4 separate regions of the Homo sapiens genome follow, and all the other regions are linked to region 1. Evidence: promoter capture Hi-C in 16 types of primary human blood cells and fetal thymus (Javierre and others, 2016). All regions are on one chromosome and are shown on one strand. Each heading gives the region's core, a stretch centred on a gene start or on the middle of the fragment in contact. The rest is flanking DNA. Distances are from core to core; before and after follow the strand shown.

Region 1 (3,069 bases), core at 151-2,650:
GCCTGGGCAACATGGTGAGATGCCATCTCTACAAAAAATTTAAAACATTAGCCAGGCGTGGTGGCTCACGCCTGTAAACCCAGCACTTTGGGGGACCCAGGTAGGAGGATTGCTTCGGCCCATGAGTTTCAGACCAGCCTGGGCAACGTAGCAAGACCCTATTGCTACACAAAAAAATTAAAACATTAGACAGGTGTGGTGGCTCACACCTGTAATCCCAACAGTTTGGGAGGCAAAGGAAGGAAGATCGCTTGAGCCCAGGAGTTCGAGACCAGCCTGAGCAACATAGCAAGACCCCGTCTACAAAACTTTAAAACATTAGTCGGATGCAGTAGCTGGTGCCTGTAATGCCAGCACTTTGGGAGGCTGAGGCAGGAGGACTGCTTGAGCCCAGGAGTTCGAGAGTAGCCTCGGCAACAGAGCAAGACTTCATCTCTACTTCCTATTACAAAAAATAATAATAATAATAAATTCTGAACCTGCAAATCTAGGAACAGAAGTTATCTGCATACACAAAACACAGTGGCGGTCATCACTGATGAGTTCAGACAGTGAACGAGTCCTGCAAAGTTGGAGATCTGTGACTCAGAGATGTTTACAAAGGCCAAGGAAACAAAGTTGCCACTTAACGGGCCTGCCCTCCCCACCAGACCTCCGTGGCTCCCCAGTGCCCGAGAAGCCGCCTCTGGGCCCCCTCTGGAGACGTCCTCCGGAGAAGGGCCCATCCTCACTTACCCTGGGGTGGGTAGGGGTCGAGGTCCCTGGGACGCCCGCTCCTCCCCTCCGGGGCCTGGCGGGGGCGCGCGGTCACTGGCCGACCGCAGGCGGCAGGCAGAGCCGCCTGATGTCTTGGGCGCGGGGCGTGCGAGCCCCCGGGTCCCCGGCCATGGCCCGGAGGTGTCAGGGTGCGCGGGGGGGCGGCTGCACGGGGGCTGCTTGGTTGGAGCCCGACCCGGGACAGGCGGGGAGGCCACACGCGCGGGGAGGGAAGGGTCGGGCCGGGTCGGGCCGGGCCAGGCGCGCAGAAGAGCCGGCGGGGACGGAAAGCGCGGGGCGGGGAGGTCCCAGCGCGCACGCCGCCCCCCCCCCACCCCCGGCCACACCTCGACCCCCGCCCAGCCCCACTTCCGGGAGCGCCACCGCCTCGCCAAGGTCACGCGGAGCCCCCGCGCCCCCGCCCCCGAGCCAGCCCGCGCCCACCCGGGTCCCCGGAGCCCTGACCCCTGCCCCGCCCCGCTGACCTGGCTCCAGGAAGCCCCCGCGGCAGCGCCGCAGCAGCTGCGCCAGGATCACCGCGGCGCCTACCGCGTAGACCCGCAGGGCCGCCCGCGCCGCAGACAATGGCGACATGGCTGCCCCGGCCGCGCCGCCGCCGCTTCCGCGCCGCCCGCGGGACTCTGCGCCCGCCCGCCCGGACGGACGGCGGAAACGCGCGCGCCCCGGACCGCCCCCTGCCCGCCCCGAACCGCCCCGGCCTGCGGGGAACCCCCAACCCCAGACCCCGCCCGGGCCCTCTGGGATCCCGCACCGCCTGCAGGACTGGGGACCCCGAGCGGACAACCGACCCCAGCCAGGACACCCCCCCCAGGACCACAGACTCCAGCCAGGAACCCCCCCCTGCAAGGACCATAGACTTCAGCCAGGACCCCCCCCCCCAGGACCACAGACCCCAGCCAGGACGCCCCCAGGACCACTGACCCCAGTCAGGACCCCCCCTTCAGGACCACAGACCCCAGCAGGGACCCCCCACACACACCCCCAGCCAGGACCACAGACCCCAGCCAGGAATCCCCCCCAGGACCACAGACCCCAGCAGGGACCCTCCACACCTCCTCCAGGACCACAGACCCCAGCAGGGACCCTTCCCCCTCCCGGCAGGACTGCAGACCCCAGCAGGGATCCCCACCACCACAAGACCAACAGCCCCAGCCAGGACGCCCCCAGGACTACAGACCCCAGCCAGCACCCAAGTCAGATCCATAGACTCCTCCCAAGAACACCCCCCAGGACCCCAGACCCCTGCTGGGACCCCCAAGACCACAGGCCCCCCCACTGGGGCACGCCCAGACACCCCACCAAGAACCCCACCAGGACTACAGACCTCCACCAGGACTCCCCAGTACCACAGATCCTCCCAGGGCCCCCCAGGACCACAGACCTCCACTGGGACCCCCACCACCAGGACCCCTCTCCAGGATCACAGACCCCTACTGGGGCCCCCTTCTAGGACCTCCACCTCCATCACAACCACCCCCCGGACCACAGGCCCCAGCCAGCACCCCACAAGACCACAGACCCCTGCCAGGACGCCCCCCAGGACTACAGACCCCAGCTGGACTGCCTCTCCAAGACCCCACACTCCAGCCAAGACCATGGAACCCCATTCAAGCCCCAGCCAGGACCCCCACCATGGGATCACAGATCCCCTACCCAGACCCTGCAGGGGACCAGGACCACCACGGGAACCACCCTCCCCATCTTAGCCAGAATCATGTAACCCCACGCAGACCTCAGCAGGGACCACAAGGACTTGGACCCCATAGGGAACCCCAGACAACCACCCAGAGCCATGCCAGGATTATGGACCAGGACTCCCACAGAGGACTCTGAACAGCTGTAAGGACCATGGACCCCACACCCTAATTCGTACTGACACCACAGAACCTGCCCCAAGCACGGACCCCACACCCCAGTTCCTGCTGACACCACAGAACCTGCCCCAAGCACGGACCCCACACCCCAGTTCCTACTGAGACCACAGACCCCACCCCAATTCCTGCCAGGCCACAGACACCACCCACCAAACCTACCCCTCCACTTCCCTGCCCCCAACAACCCTGCAGGGATCACAGACCCCCTTCCCGGCCCCTGCAGAGAACTCCAGACTACTTCAGGGACCACGAGCCCCCTCCCCACCCTGATCCCTACTGGGACAGCAGACCCCTACTCAGACCTTGGTTGGGAACCCCAGACAACCACAGAGTTACCTGGGCTCCCTCAGGGAACCCCAGACCAGCACAGAACCCCCACCCAGACCCTTACCAGGGCCAAGGCTGAAATCCCACATGG
Region 2 (3,069 bases), core at 366-2,865, 220 kb before region 1:
ATTCATTCCCTTGAATTCATTCAGATTCACTCATTTGAATTCATTCATTCATTCCTTTGAATTCATTCCTTTGAATTCATACATTCCTTTCAATTCATTTAGTCCTTTGAATTCATTCGTTCCTTTGAATTCATTTGTTCATTCATTAGAATTCATTCATTCCTTAGAATTAATTCATTTGAATTCATTTGTTCATTCCTTTGAATTCATTTGCATTCATTCATTCCTCTGAATTCATTCATTCATTTGAATTCTTTCATTCATTCATTCACTCATTTGAATTCATTCAAGTGAATGAATGAATTTGAATGAATGAATGAATGAATGAATGAATGGGTGAATGAAGAACTGTACCAAAAAACAGAGTCTTTAGGTCTCTGGCCAGGGAAGAATCATTGTTATTTTTCAGGGTCACCCTGTATCGTGGACGTATTTCTTTGGTGGTAGGAAAAATAATGCTTAGTAATTCATTATCTCAGAAAGAAATTCATCCATTAGAGTTATGGGAAGATGGCTGACAAGGATAAATCTATAAATCCTCTGCATTATTAAAAATCTATCAATTTTCAGACATGGGGATGGGAAGCTAGATAAATACAATTTTGAAGTGAATAAACCATAAATACCGGCTCTGCAGGAGGTCTATTATTGATTTATTCTTGTGCTTGATAAATCATCGCGTTGCCTCTGAGCTTCCCACAGCAGCCAGACAGAGGCAGTCAGGTTCTATTTTCAACCCACTAGCAAATGAAAAAGATATTCTATGTCTGAAGTATTTAATGTTTGCAAAACCTTGATTGCTCTAAGAATAAAAAAAGAAAAGCACGAAGTGTAGCTCCTTCTTGCCTTGGAAGTCACCCTGGCTGAGCTCAGCTGGGGCTGTTTTCCATGAGACTTGAGGCACGTGGTTGACTAGCAGGAGTTTTGGAGGGAAGGTTCTGGGGAAATAGTTTAGGGCAGCAGTCTCCAACCTTTTTGGCACCAGGGACCACTTTTGTGAAAGACAATTTTCTGAAGACAGAAGGTGGAGGTGGAATGTGGGGATGGTTTTGGGATGATTCCGGGGCATGACATTTATTGTACACTTTATTTGTATTATTATTACATTGTACTATATAATGAAATAATTCTACAAGTCGCCATCATATAGAATCAGTGGGAGCCCTGAGCTTGTTTTCCTGTGACTAGACAGTCCCATCTGGGGGTGATGGGAGACAGTGACAGATCATCAGGAATTAGATTCCATAAGGAGCACACAACCTAGATCCTTCCCATGCACAGATCATCAGGCTTTAGCTTTTCATAAGGAGTGCACAACCTAAGTCCCTCACATGCACAGTTCACAGTAGGGTTTGTGCTCCTATAAGAATCTAATGCTGCTGCTGATCTGACAGGAGGCAGAGCTCAGGCAGTCATGTGAACAATGGGGAGTGGCTGTAAATACAGATGAAGCTTTGCTTGTTCACTTGCCACTCACCTTCTGCTGTGCGGCCGGTGTCCTAACAGGCCATGGACTGGTACTATGACCTGGGGGTTGGACAGCCCTGGTTTAGGGGTCTGCAGACCCCCTACTAGCCTCTTAGACACTAAAAGTACCACCACTGGAGTCCTTCCCTGAGGCTGCCTATAAATAGAAACTCTATTTACATAAGTTGACACCAGCAATATCCCAAACATACAATCCAGCAATCTCATTTGCACACAACGAAGAAGAATTCTGATGCACAAACCAACGAGAAAAATCCTTGATTTCTTCTCTAAGTCAAGGTACATCTGGCCCAAGCTTCAGCACACCAGCTGGTGATGAACCCATTCTCAGCGTTGACTGTATAGAATCCAGCCTTCTCATTTGCACACAACGAAGATGAATTCTGATGCATAAACCAAGGCATGCAACAAATGAGAAAAATCCTTTACTTCTTCTCTAAATCAACGTACATCTGGCTCAAGCCTCCAGCACAAGAGCTGGTGATGAATCCATTCTCAACGCTGACTGTGTAGAATCCAGCCTTCTCATTTGCACACCACGAAGATGAATTCTGATGCACAAACTAAGGCATGCAATAAATGAGAAAAATACTTTGCTTCTTCCCTAAATCCAGGTACATCAGACCCAGGCCTCCAGCACACGGGCTTGTGCTGAATCCATTCTCAGTGCTGACTGTATAGAATCCAGCCTCGTCATTTGCACACCATGAAGATGAATTCTGATGCACAAACCAAGGCAAAAAATGCTTTACTTCCTCTCTAAATCAAGGTTCATCTGGCCCAAGCCTCCAGCACACAGGCTGGTGATGAATCCATTCTCAGCATAGACTGTGCCATCTGGGCTACTTCTGGCTTGAGGAGCACTTATCCCTGCAGCTTTCCATCCACCCTGGGTACCTCGGGAGGCCCCTTTCCAAGCCCATGGGCTTCACGAAGCTCCATGGTTCTGTTGCATTTCCAAGAGAACCAAGAGGATTTGTCAACAAGAGACTGCCTCTCTGCATTTCTGTCTTCTTGTGAAGAGTGGGCAATGGGTATTCAACACAGCCTCCAAAAGCGAAGTCTCCAGCTCTTTTCTAGAAGCTTCTGTCTGTACCCACAGAGGAAAAAAAAAAAAATCCAGATCCTCTGCAACTGAGCTCTTCTCAACAGTGACCCCAGGGACAAGATGAACCTTAGTCAGCCACAAAAACCTATAGGGAGTCCAGGAAAGCCACAGCCTGAGCAACCTCTTGAAAGATGTAGAACAAAAAGATAAAAGGAAGAAAGTGCAAAGTGTTATTTCAAGCCATCATCTTGTAACAAATGGATTCTCATTATCACCTCCTGGAAATGGTGTTCTGAGCAGCACAGGCTGGGGAATTCCAGGGAGGCGTGTGACTTGGGGTGCAATCTTCTCTGTACTTTACAAGACTGTGTTGTCACATTGCAAGAGGTGTGTTTTCTAAGGCAGAACATTTCACAGAATGATTATTGGTCCAATGTTTGTTTCCGTTGCTAAAGTATGATTTCTATGAGGTCAAGAATCTTGCTTATTATTTTATTTTTCCTGCAAGCGAAGTATGTGAAGGGCAGAGTAGG
Region 3 (3,069 bases), core at 163-2,662, 200 kb before region 1:
TTGGGTCACGGGGGTGGATGTCTCAGGAATAGTTTAGTGCCATCCCCTGGGTGCTGTGCTTGCAATAGTGAATGAGTTCTCGTGGCATCTGGTTGTTGAAAAGTGTGTAGCATCTCCCCAGCCCACCCCAACTGCACCTCTGTCTCTCCTTCTCTTGCTAGGGCCATGTAAGACACCTGCTTTCCTTCACTTTCCACTATGATTATGCATTTCCTCATGCCTCCCTAGAAGCAGAAGCTGCTCTGCTTCCCGTACAGCCTGCAGATCCATGAGCCAATTAAACTTCTTTTCTTTATAAATTACCCAGTCTCAGTGTAGCAATTCCTCAAAGACCTAGAACCAGAAACACCATTTGACCCAGCAATCCCATTACTAGGTATATATCCAAATAAATAGAAATCATTCTATTATAAAGATACAGGCACACATATGTTCATTGCAGCACTATTCACAATAGCAAGGATGTGGAATCAACTCAAATGCCCAAGAATGATAGACTGGATTAAAAAAAATGGTACATATACACCGTGGAATACTATGCAGCCATAAAAAGGAACGAGATCATGTCCTTTGCAGGGACATGGATGGAGCTAGAAGCCATTATTCTTGGCAAACTAATGCAGGAACAGAAAACCAAACACTGTACACTCTCACTCATAAGTGGGTGCTTAACAATGAGAACACATGGATACAGGGAGGGGAACAACACACACTGGGGCGTGTTGTGGGTGGGGGTCAGGGAGGGGGAGAGCATCAGGAAAAATAGCTAATGCCTGCTCAGTAGTGAAGTACAAATCAAAACCACAATGAGATACCACCTCACATCAGTTAGAAGGGCGATCATTAAAAAATCAGGAAACAACAGATGCTGGAGAGGATGTGGAGAAACAGGAATGCTTTTACACTGTTGGTGAGAGTGGAAGTTAGTTCAACCATTGTGGAAGACACTGTGGCGATTCCTCAAGGATCTAGAACCAGAAATACCATTTGACCCAGCAATCCCATGACTGGGTATATACCCAAAGGATTATAAATCATCCTACTATAAAGACACATGCACATGTGTGTTTACTGCAGCACTGTTCACAATATTAAAGACTTGGAACCAACGCAAATGCCCGTCATTGATAGACTGAATAAAGAAAATGTGGCACATAGACACCATGGACTACTATGCAGACATTAAAAAGGATGAGTTCATGTGCTTTGCAGGGACACGGATGAATCTGGAAACCATCATTCTCAGCAAACTAACACAAGAACAGAAAACTAAACACCACATGTTCTCACTCTTAAGTGGGAGTTGAGCAATGAGAACACAGGGACACAGGGAGGGGAACATCACACACTGGGGCCTGTTGGGGGGTGGGGGGCAAGGGGAGAGATAGCTTTAAAAGAAATACCTAATGTAGATAACGAGTTGATGGGTGCAGCAAACCACCATGGCACGTCTATACCTATATAACAAACCTGCATGTTCTGCACATGTACCCCAGAACTTAAAGTACAATAATAAAAAGAATAGCTAACTCATGCTGGGCTTTAATACTTAAGTGATGGGTTGATAGGTGCAGCAAACCACCACGGCACATGTTTATCTATGTACAATCCTGCATATGTACCCGGAACTTAAAATTTTTAAAAATTACCCAGTCTCAGGTATTTCTTCAGAGCAGTGTGAGAACGGAGTAATACAGGCAACCAACGGGCTTTGCTCATTCTTGCAATCAGCATCTTTTTTTTTTTGCATCCATTCAGGAGCTACCTCGCACCAAGAGAAACACTGGTAGGAAGGGTAAGGGGAACAGGGTATGGCTGGCATCACTAGGGGAAGATGAGCCGATACATCAAGCCCTGCAGCAGGGGAAGGCAGAATGCTCACTGGGTGCTAGAACTTGAACTTCACCCCTGACATTCAGAAAAATCTCTTTGGACAAAGAGCAGAGCAGGAATGAAGCCCACAATTAAGATTGCGATCAATTATCTTTTTTTTTTTTTTTTGAGGCAGAGTCTTGCTCTGTTGCCCAGGCTGGAGCGCAGTGGTGCGATCTTGGCTCACTGCAACCTCCACCCGCCAGGTTCAAGCGATTCAGCCTCCCAAGTAGCTGGGATTACAGACGCGCACCACCACGCCTGGCTAATTTTTGTATTTGTAGTAGAGACAAGGTTTCGATGATCAGTCATCTTTTTGACGCACTGCTGGATTCTGTTTGCTAGTATGTGGTTGAGCATTTGTGCGTCTATCTTCATCTGGGATATTGGCCTGTAGTTTTCTATTTTTGTCGTGTCCTTGTCAGATTTTGGTATCAAGATGATACAGGTTTTGTAGAATAAGTTAGGGAGGAATCCCTCCGCCTCAATTTTTTAGAATCGTTTCAGTCAGATTGGAACCAGCTCTTCTTTGTACATCTGGTCGAATTCAGCTGTGAATTTGTCTGGTCTTGGGGCTTTTTTTTTTTTTTTTGATTGATAGGTTTTTGTAAATTACTGATTCAATTTCATAACTTGTCATGAAATGAGTCTGTTCTGGATCTGATTTCTTCCTGATTCAATCTTGGGAGGCATGAGGGAATCAGCCCAGGTGTCCATCAATTATGTGTTGGATGAAGAAAATGTAGTTGCTGCATATATACCGTAGAATAGTATAGAGCCATAAAAAAGAATGAAATCATGTTTTTAGCAGCAACACAGATGCAGCTGGAGGCCATTATCCTAAGTGAATTAACACAGAAACGGAAAATTAAATACCACTTGTTCTCAATTATACATAGGAGCTAAACATTGAATAATCAGGCATAAAAATGGGAAGCTGGCACACCTGCGCATTCCAAGAGCAGGGGAGGGAGAGGGGTGTAAAGGCTAAAACTCTACCTATGAGGTATTTTGTTCACCGTTTGAGTGACAGGTTCAACTGAAGCGTGAACCGCAGCACTACACAATGTATCTTACAACAAAGCTGCACGTGTACCTCATGAAATTTTTTTTAAAAGAAAACAAACAAGGCCGGGGGGTGGGTGGCTCACGCCTGTAATCCCAGCACTTTGGGAGGCCGAGGCGGGTGGATCACGA
Region 4 (3,069 bases), core at 292-2,791, 160 kb before region 1:
TTCCTGCCTCTCCCAGCTCCTGGGGGCTCCAGGCATCCCTGGGCTTATGGCCGCATCACTCCAGTCTCTGCCTCCGTCTCCACGTGGCCTTCTCCTCTGTGTCTGTGTCTCCTCTTCCGTCTCTTACAAGGACACCTGTCATTAGATTTAGGATCCACTGCAATCCAGGATGATCTCATCTCCAGATCCTTTTTTACATCTGCAAAGACCTTATTTCCAAATAAAAAATCACATGTACAGATTCAAGGTGAACTTGTCTTTTTTTTTTTTTTGGTGGGGGTGGGGGTAAAATAGAGGCACCATTCAATCCACTACAGGGGTTGAGAAGAAATAAAATATTACAAAATGCTCCCTGATAAGAAATAAAATATTACAAAATGCTTCCTGAATGTGATTTAGAAGTTTTTTTGTTTGTTTTGTTTTGTTTTTAAATGGAGTTTCACTCTTACTGCCCAGGCTGGAGCGCAATGGCGTGATGTCAGCTCACCGCAACCTCTACCTCCTGGGTTCAAGTAACTCTCCTGCCTTAGCCTCCCAAGTATCTGGGACTACAGATGCCCGCTACCACTCCCGGCTAATTTTTTGTATTTTTAGTAGACATGGGGTTTCACCATGTTGGCCAGGCTGGTTTCAAACCCCTGACCTCAGGTGATCTGTCCGCCTCGGCCTCCCAATGTGCTGGGATTACAGGCGTGAGCCACCTCGCCCGGCCGATTTAGAAGCTTTTGTTTGTGGGCGTGAAGGTTCAGTAAGAGCTTCCTCTAGTCCTTGTCAAGATCAAAATTAAAGGCATTATAAACAGAGATGCCTATCTGTCGGCCACATATCCAGAAAATAAATGCTGAGATGAGAATTCTGGTTTCTGAATAGGAGTCTGATATCTGCATTTGGTGTTGCCAAAGCAAGCCCTGACTTCTCTCTTCTCTCATTGAGACAGAGCACACACCCTCACTCCTTGTGTCTCTGAGTCACATGTATCGGGCCATACTCACCTGATACCTCACGGATTGTCCCGGGGCTAGTTCTATTTCTAGCTCCTGGGCAGGACGGTGACCATGAGTTCGACGGTGCCCAGCAAGCCCATCTGGCCAGCACTTATCTGCCTTTGGGTACAGCCTGCCCTTTCTCCCAAGTGTCTGAGCATAAAAATAGCCCACCATGTCAACCCCGCAGATGACAAGCATGTGAGTGGCTAGTTTCTGCCTGAGAACTCTCCCGAGGTCTCCCTGAACACTCACGGATGCCTGGGCTGGCCCAAGATGCAGCAGTAGGTCACTGACAGACTCTCTTCCATTTATTCACAGTTTCCATGATTCCCACGCTCATAGCATCGACATAACAAAAGCAAAGTTAAGCTACAGACTCTGCTCCCGCCCCAACCTCTCTAATAGCTGCTAACAGAGCCAATGGATTGTTTTTTTCAACTTGCAACTTAAACACAACTTTGCCTTCTCCCTGAGTCTTTTAATTCAAACATTCAGTCATTCTCCATCAGGTACGCACAGGAGATACAAAATCAATATGATAACGGTCTTCAGGTTGTGGGTGACAGAGCGGGAGCATGGCCATCTTGAACAAACACCACCATTCTAGGCTCCCCTTGATTAAAAACCGCCTAAATCCAGCCCGAAAACATCAGCCTCATGACTCATGTCAGCATAACCAGAAACATTCCAACCCTAAGATAAACCCGTCTCCGACCAAAAACATACCAACCCTGAGACAGCCTCCCCTCTGACCAGAGATATTCAACCCTGCAATAAACTCTCCCTCACATACAAACATTCTGAACCTATGATAAGCACCCCCTTCCAAAACCCTTAAATGTGCTTAGTCTATAAGAGAGAAGAGCTCTGACCTAACTCAGCCAGAAGCCCCTCTCAGGTTTCTCTAAAATAAACCTGTGTTTAACTGTCAAGTGACATTTCATGCTTCTTTCCTCTTTAATTCTTACAGTGAGTGTGTAGAGCACGCTTGACATAAGTGACTCCACCTTAGAAAAAGATTCCATGTTACATTTCATTCAAAAGGCATCATGCCTACAGGAGCCAGATGTTCACCTGATCAATAAAGACCACATCCAAACAGTTAAGGACACAACCAAACACCCTCTTCCATTGTCAATCCTCACCAGAGGACTCTGTGGTCATGAAAGAACAGGGCTTCAGCAGCTCCAAATGGCTACCTTAACAGATGCCATCTTGCTGTCACTTGTAATCATTACGCAGCATCCACCGCAAAAGGCTCTGCCCCACTGATATCAAAGGCTCTTCCTTGCAAGATGGCGACCACTGATGGCCCTCCAGGGCCAGGCCAGGAGACTTTTTTTTGTCCACATCAATATCCCTGTGCTCCTTTGTTAAGCTTTTTCCTACCCCTTTTCTCTTGATGATAAATGTTACGTTGTTTGATGTAGAATGTTTAATCTATAACATGCATATATTGGTGAAGTGTATTAGTATGTATAGGTTGCAATACTGACTGACTTGGGTCACAGCAGGAGCCTGTGCGCCTGTAGCTCTGACTAAATGCTGCCGGCACACAGGCTCCAGTACTCCAAGGGCTCAAGCCATTTCAGTACTAAATGGGAAGTCCTAAGGAGAATTGCCTCCTTGAAAACTCCGTGCATCTTGGGGCTTCTGTAAACTGAAATAGCATCAATAAAAGGCTGAACTTGTGAAAAGACACAACCATACATGGGCCTGGTTTTCTATCTCTGACCTTGCACCACTCATGAGAGCGGGCTCCAGCAAGCCAGCCAGCAGGAAAGACAGAAAAGGTGAAAACTGATTCAACAAAGGAAGGATACTTGAGCTAGATTAAACATTTTATTACATTTTCTCTGAATTTTTAGCCCATCATCACGGGTCATTAGAGAAATGCAAATCAAAACCACAATGAAATACCAACTTATGCCAGTTAGAATGGCGATCACTAAAAAAGTCAGGAAACGAGAGATGCTGGAGAGGATGTGGAGAAATAGGAACGCTTTTACACTGTTATTGAGAGTGTAAATTAGTTCAACCATTGTGGAAGACAGTGTGGCGATTCCTCAAGAATCCAGAACCA

What was found. Contacts are between HindIII fragments. The CHiCAGO score rates a contact against its expected background, and 5 or more counts as called.
Region 2: a contact is called between a fragment that was not itself captured here and the fragment with the promoter of DHRSX in region 1, in 1 of 17 cell types (neutrophils). The highest score is 5.5, in neutrophils.
Region 3: a fragment that was not itself captured here is called in contact with the fragment with the promoter of DHRSX in region 1 in 1 of 17 cell types (neutrophils); the score reaches 7.0 in neutrophils.
Region 4: a fragment that was not itself captured here is called in contact with the fragment with the promoter of DHRSX in region 1 in 1 of 17 cell types (neutrophils); the score reaches 6.5 in neutrophils.

What each region holds. Positions count from the first base shown.
Region 1 is chrX:2,499,576-2,502,644 of GRCh38, forward strand. DHRSX (dehydrogenase/reductase X-linked) reads right to left here and starts at 1,401. Exons shown (of 7, transcript NM_145177.3): 1 at 1,242-1,401. The coding sequence starts at 1,350. It overlaps ZBED1 (zinc finger BED-type containing 1), which reads right to left and starts at 1,401. Exons shown (of 2, transcript NM_001171136.2): 1 at 1,242-1,401. The HindIII fragment of the contact is 4,150 bases long and covers 1-3,069 here.
Region 2 is chrX:2,284,100-2,287,168 of GRCh38, forward strand. All of the region lies in intron 4 of DHRSX (dehydrogenase/reductase X-linked), which reads right to left. Among named protein-coding and RNA genes, the nearest start is that of DHRSX, 220 kb to the right of the region's middle. The HindIII fragment of the contact is 331 bases long and covers 1,451-1,781 here.
Region 3 is chrX:2,304,479-2,307,547 of GRCh38, forward strand. The region is part of intron 3 of DHRSX (dehydrogenase/reductase X-linked); the gene reads right to left. Among named protein-coding and RNA genes, the nearest start is that of DHRSX, 190 kb to the right of the region's middle. The HindIII fragment of the contact is 6,213 bases long and covers 1-3,069 here.
Region 4 is chrX:2,341,394-2,344,462 of GRCh38, forward strand. All of the region lies in intron 3 of DHRSX (dehydrogenase/reductase X-linked), which reads right to left. Among named protein-coding and RNA genes, the nearest start is that of DHRSX, 160 kb to the right of the region's middle. The HindIII fragment of the contact is 1,642 bases long and covers 721-2,362 here.